2 separate regions of the Homo sapiens genome follow, and region 2 is linked to region 1. The links are contacts of gene promoters, found by promoter capture Hi-C in human tissues and cell types (Jung and others, 2019). All regions are on one chromosome and are shown on one strand. Each heading gives the region's core, a stretch centred on a gene start or on the middle of the fragment in contact. The rest is flanking DNA. Distances are from core to core; before and after follow the strand shown. Region 1 holds the start of PAWR (pro-apoptotic WT1 regulator). Region 2 overlaps OTOGL (otogelin like).

Evidence for each region. The method cuts DNA at HindIII sites, captures the fragments that hold promoters and counts their contacts. A contact is called where the count stands out against the background at its distance.
Region 2: a fragment that was not itself captured here is called in contact with the fragment with the promoter of PAWR in region 1 in 1 of the 25 tissues and cell types used here (H1 embryonic stem cells).

What each region holds. Positions count from the first base shown.
Region 1 is chr12:79,689,544-79,692,243 of GRCh38, forward strand. PAWR (pro-apoptotic WT1 regulator) reads right to left here and starts at 1,421. Exons shown (of 7, transcript NM_002583.4): 1 at 1,329-1,421; 2 at 186-848. The coding sequence starts at 701. PPP1R12A-AS2 (PPP1R12A antisense RNA 2) reads left to right here and starts at 489. Exons shown (of 7, transcript NR_187531.1): 1 at 489-853. RefSeq lists silencers at 129-648, 1,419-1,718. The HindIII fragment of the contact is 10,737 bases long and covers 1-2,700 here.
Region 2 is chr12:80,290,406-80,293,105 of GRCh38, forward strand. All of the region lies in intron 26 of OTOGL (otogelin like), which reads left to right. Among named protein-coding and RNA genes, the nearest start is that of PTPRQ, 150 kb to the right of the region's middle. The HindIII fragment of the contact is 3,694 bases long and covers 1-2,700 here.

The sequences.
Region 1 (2,700 bases), core at 171-2,670:
GGAACTTCCCAGGAAGCATTTGTTCAGAGTAAAACTCCATCACCCCCTGCCTGCCTAACTCGGTGAAGGGACAAGTACGAGCCAGGGGAGGTAAACTCTGCGCCCCGGGTAGCTCCCAGGAGGAAGACACCGGGAGGCAGCTGCCCGCCCCGGCCCGGTCCGGCTGCGGCCCCCGCCCGGCTCACCTCTGCGGCAGGGATGTTGACCACGCCGGTGGAGCGCCGCTTCTCCCGCAGCTTCCTCTTCTCGATCTGCCCCTTGCCTTTCCTGGCACTGGGGCCCGAGCTCTTGCCCTTCTCTGGGACGCCGTCCGGCTCCTCCTCGTCACGCTGGGGCGGCGGTGCAGCCGAGGCAGAGGCGGCTGGGGGCTCGTCCTCCGACCGCCGCGGGCCGGGGGCCGCCCGCGTCAGCATGGCGGAGCCGACCGCGCAGTTCACGCCCCCGGGACCGGGGACGGCAGGTGCGGCCGGCGCGCCGCCCGGGAGGTTGTTGTTGAGCTCGTTGGCAGCGGCGGCCGCCGGGGTGCCCAGAGCCCCCGCGGGGGGCTTCCCAGCGGCGTCGCTGCTGCCCCCTCCCGGGGGGGCCGGGCCCGGGGGGTTCTGCTTGGCGCGCATCTTCTCGCGTTTCGCCTTCCACTCCTCCAGGAAGTCTGTGGTGCTGCCGCCGAGGCCGCTGCTGGTCCGGTAGCCACCGGTCGCCATATTCCCAAAGGGGCCGGTCGGGCTCTCACCTCAGGCCGCCCACCAGGGCTCCGGCCGCTGCCTCCTCTTCCTTCCTGCGGCCCCGAGGATGCCAGGAGACGACCTCCAGGAGAGGGACGGCCGCCGCTCCCACAGCAGCCGGCGGGGCTGAGGTGAAAGACAAAAGGGGGCGGGTAAGGGAAGCGTAAGATCCCCGCCCGACCCAAGGGTCTGCCCCCGGGCTGCGCCCCTTGGAGTCCTCGAGCGCGCCCACCAGTCACTACCGGCCAGCAGCCGCCGGGTCCCCACCCTGCAAAGTTTCTCCCACGCACCTACAGTACGGACCCCGACGATCGCCGCCCCTAGAAGGGAGGAGAGAGGACTGACCCCACCCCCAAGTCGGCCCGCCCGCCCCATCCCCACCAAGGTCCGCGCCGGCGGCGGTCGAGATACTAGGGCTAGACCCGCCACCTGTCGGCTCGTCGTATCGCCTGCTCCGCGCTCTAGCCACCGCCGGTCCGAGGTCCCCGTCAGCTACAACCCCACTCCCAAGGCGAGGCGCGGAGCTCCTAGCCGGTTCGCAGAGGAGGCGGGGACCCAGCTGTCCCGCCGAGCGTGGAAAGGACCGGGTGTGAGCGAGCGCCTTACCTTGGAGGAGCTTGTAGGGGACGAGGCGTAGGGCTGGGATCCGGCTCCCAGGTGTGCCGAAGCTGGCGCGCGCTCTTCCGCCGCGCGGAAAGTGCCGCGGCAAACTCGCGGTGCGGAGCTCCAGGCAATCCCAGGACAGGAGGGAGGGAGAAGAAGGAGGGAGGGAGGGAGGGAGGGAGCCAGGGGCGGGAAGGGAGCCGAGCGGCGCCGAAGCACGAGCGGAAAAGGCCGAGGCGGCGCGCGAGGGGCGCGGCGCGCGGTGGGAAGGGTCGTGGCCGCTGACGCCCCGCCCCCGGCGCTCAGGTGCGCGGCGTCGCGTCCGGCCCGCCGCTGCAGCCTGCCCTGCGCCAGCCGTCCTCTGCCCCGCTCCCGCCGCAGACCACAGCGCGCCCGCCGCGCTCCGCCCGCGGCCTGCGAGTTAGACGGCACATTCCTGGGCTAGCAGCTTCGCGGCGTCCGGCCTCCCGGCGCCTCCGACTCCGGGGCGGGAACGGCACTCCACGCCCTTCTTGCTTGTCTTCTCCGCCTCTCTCTTCTCCCACCACTCTTCCTTTTAAGTACAAGACCGTATTATTTGAGAGAAAGTCTCGAACGCTGCTGGCTAAGGGGAAAAGTGCGATAACTTGTGATGATTCAGGGAATGACTAGACAGGATGGGAAAATACCCACGTGTCTCTTTTCCTAGTCGCTGCTCCCTTTTCAGATGTACTAGGGCAGCGGGCAGGAGAATAGAAAGACCTGAGACAAACCCAGCACCCTCCTTCTAAGAAAACTGCGGTGCCCTGGTGAAAAGGGTTGGCTAAGAGGAAGGACTTACTAGTATCTTAGGGTTGCGGGAGAAAAAACTCAGTTCGACAGTTTATTGTATTGGCGATTCCAGTCTTGGAGTTTTCCCCTTAACCCTGTCTCTGCCTCTCCTCTTTACAGAGAATGAATTTAGCAGCAAAGCTCCCTACCAAAGTACTAACGCTGCACTGATGCTAATTTGAGATGAGCTGGGGCAGTGATTGTCTCTATTTTTTCATTATTAACATGCCAGAGGCTTATCCTCTGATGCAAGTCATCTGAAATTTCTGGATCAGAGCGGGGTGGGCTGTCACTGACGCACCTAAGACTGACCTTTCTATATCCAAGTAATGTCAGGGCACATCATTGTGGGAGGCTACAAATGCCAGGTCTCCATTTTGTAAAAAAGTAGGAGAGCCCTAAGTCACGCTCTTACCTAACATAAACCTTTCTTCCTACTTAATATTCCTGTTTTGCCCAGGTAGCACATGATGAGTGAGCAATCAGTGTTTGCCTGCCACAGAACTGGGAACAGAAGAAAGTGATTCACATGCTCTATATTTCTCAGGGAAAGACAGTTTTGGTC
Region 2 (2,700 bases), core at 151-2,650, 600 kb after region 1:
TATGGACCATATTTTGAGTAGTAAGGATGTAGAACATTTTACTTTCTTTAACAACCTGATTTTAATTATTTTTGAAATTATTTCTCTTCTTCTGCATAGTCAAATTTAAGTTACATTCAGAAAAAAGAAAGTTTTGCTGACAATATAATGTCAAACATGACATGTTCCCATTGGATATATCATTACTGTTAAAGATGTTTGTTTATGGTATCATTTTAAGTAGTAACACAAAGATTCTGTGAAGCTTTATTTTTCATTTTGTATATGGAAAAAATATTTGCACATTTCTACCAAAAGCATTAAAAATCTTGTTCATGTTTCAGCATCTCTACAAATATTTTCCAATGTATGGTGGTGATCTTTGTTCACATTATTATTTCATTCATTTAATAAAACAATTTTAGGGGCCTATTAAATGTAAAGCATGCCAGTAAAGACATATCTACTATTTATACTCCATATTAAGACAGATTTCTCTAAGAAAATTCTAAGGTTTTGATGGTGGGGACAATGCCTTATATTTCTTGTTATTCTTTCTAAGTCATTTTGCAGAATGCTGGGCATTTGGTGAACTCAATAACTACTTGTTAGTATTTTCTCCTGTTACTCTCATTTTCTTTTTTTAGTAGAGAAAATGTAGCATTTATCATTGTCATTTCAAATACTGATTGTGCAGAAAATATTTCAAGTAGAGTATTTGTCTTAACTCTGAGTCCTGGCAAGAGGAAACTATAATCTTGTGTTTATGTTTAATTGTAGAGAAATAATATCAACTAATAAATAATGGACAAGGCCAGAAACTAATAAAAGACGTACCATAGTTTCTTTTCAAATGATATTTTTCTCTCTCTCAGTTCCTCATTTCTATGAAAGACAAATCATAACAGGACCAATGTACTTGCAAAATAAGTTTTAATCGTAGTATATTTGGCTTGATTATTTGCATAAAATGCAGCAAGAATAATTATTGTTCATATAGGCTCTTTTACGTTGGCTTTGTTGTAACTTTTTCATAATCTCAGATTAGACCTTTTAAAAGCCTCTTGAGGTTAGCCAGCTAAGGATTTATATGTGCCTGCAAATACCTATATGAATTGGGTTAATTTCTCTCTTCTTGAGGTTCTAAAATAACTTGGGGTTCCTAAGCCTGTCAGAAAGTGATGTGCTTTACTTACTACAGGTCACAAACATTGTAAAGGAATTGCATAAACAAGGTGTCAGGCCAGTCTGTACGAGAGGCTTTGGTCAGCTCTATAATGTCAACTTAAATTCCCCAAAGCAGTCCAGTCATATCTGTAAATATTCCATCCTAGTCAAAGCTGTGGTAAAATAACCAGCGTCTCCAACTGTTTCCTGTTACAACAGAAAATAGATTCTTATTGAACTTATGCAAATAGCTATATTGCCATAATTTAAGAATACTCACAAATGATTTTTAAATTCTGGAGAAATCAGATAGAAAGAAATATGCCTCAAATTTTGCTCACAAGAGCATACTTTACTCAATTTGTTGTAAGCTATAAATAGCTCAAAAGAAAGAAATATTTTCTTTTCTTTTTTTTCTTTTTCTTTTCTTTTCTTTTTCTTTTTTTGTTTTTTTGAGATGGAGTTTCACTCTTATTGCCCAGGCTGGAGTGCAGTGGTGCAATCTTGGCTCACCACAACCTCCACCTTCTAGGTTCAAGCAATTATCCTGCTTCAACCTCCCAAGTAGCTGGGATTACAGGCATGCGCCACCACACCTGGCTAATTTTGTATTTTTAGTAGAGACGGGGTTTCTCCATGTTGGTCAGGCTGGTCTTGAATTCCTGACCTCAGGAGATCAGCCTGCCTCGGCCTCCCAAATTGCTGAGATTACAGGCATGAGCCACTACGCCCAGCAGAAATGTTTTCTTGACTTTAGAAAACAAAACGTAAAGAAGCCCAATGTTTCAAACAAACAAGTCATAAGAAAACATTTCAGCCTTCTGTTAGTTCAGTCCCATGCAGTTAACTCTTGTTCTGCCCAGTATTGGGCCAGCAATCCTCATGAACACATCTGCCCTCCAGTGAGAATCCCAGAAGTTTTCTCTCTAGTCTGATGGCACAATCTCCAAAGTAATCAGAAACCTGCCTTCAAGAGCACCTGTCAGAGTCCTTTCCACAAACTTCCTTAAGGAAGCAAGTTGTGGACTGCAGCTGATTATAAAGTGCTTTTTGAGAAGAATAAAAGTAAAACAATAATTGTCTGTGCATGACAAAAGTCTTAGACTAGCCACGGTTAAAGACACAATAGACAAGGAAATTTGATTATTTCTGTGGCATACAATAATTTAATGTAATAGTCATAATTATTCCTGATAACATAGATTAAGACATACCAGAACTATATGAATCTTATATAATTTTGGAACATATATTAATGACACATTCATATAAAAATAACTCAAAGAAAGTTAAACACCATTTCATATTTGACAATGATTCTGGTGTAATTTTAACATACCAACGAAGATGAATATGTCTGTCTCGGACTTCAGGAGCCCTAATACCCAAAAAGTTAGTTTGAGGCCAAAAGACTGAATTTAGAATTTGGAAAGGTTATCAAATATCAAAGGCTTAAAACACTTGATATTGCAAAATAAGAGTCACAGGTAACTGCAAAATTAGTCATTTAATCAAAGTGATAATTCAAATATTTTAAAAAGCTAAAACCTTTAC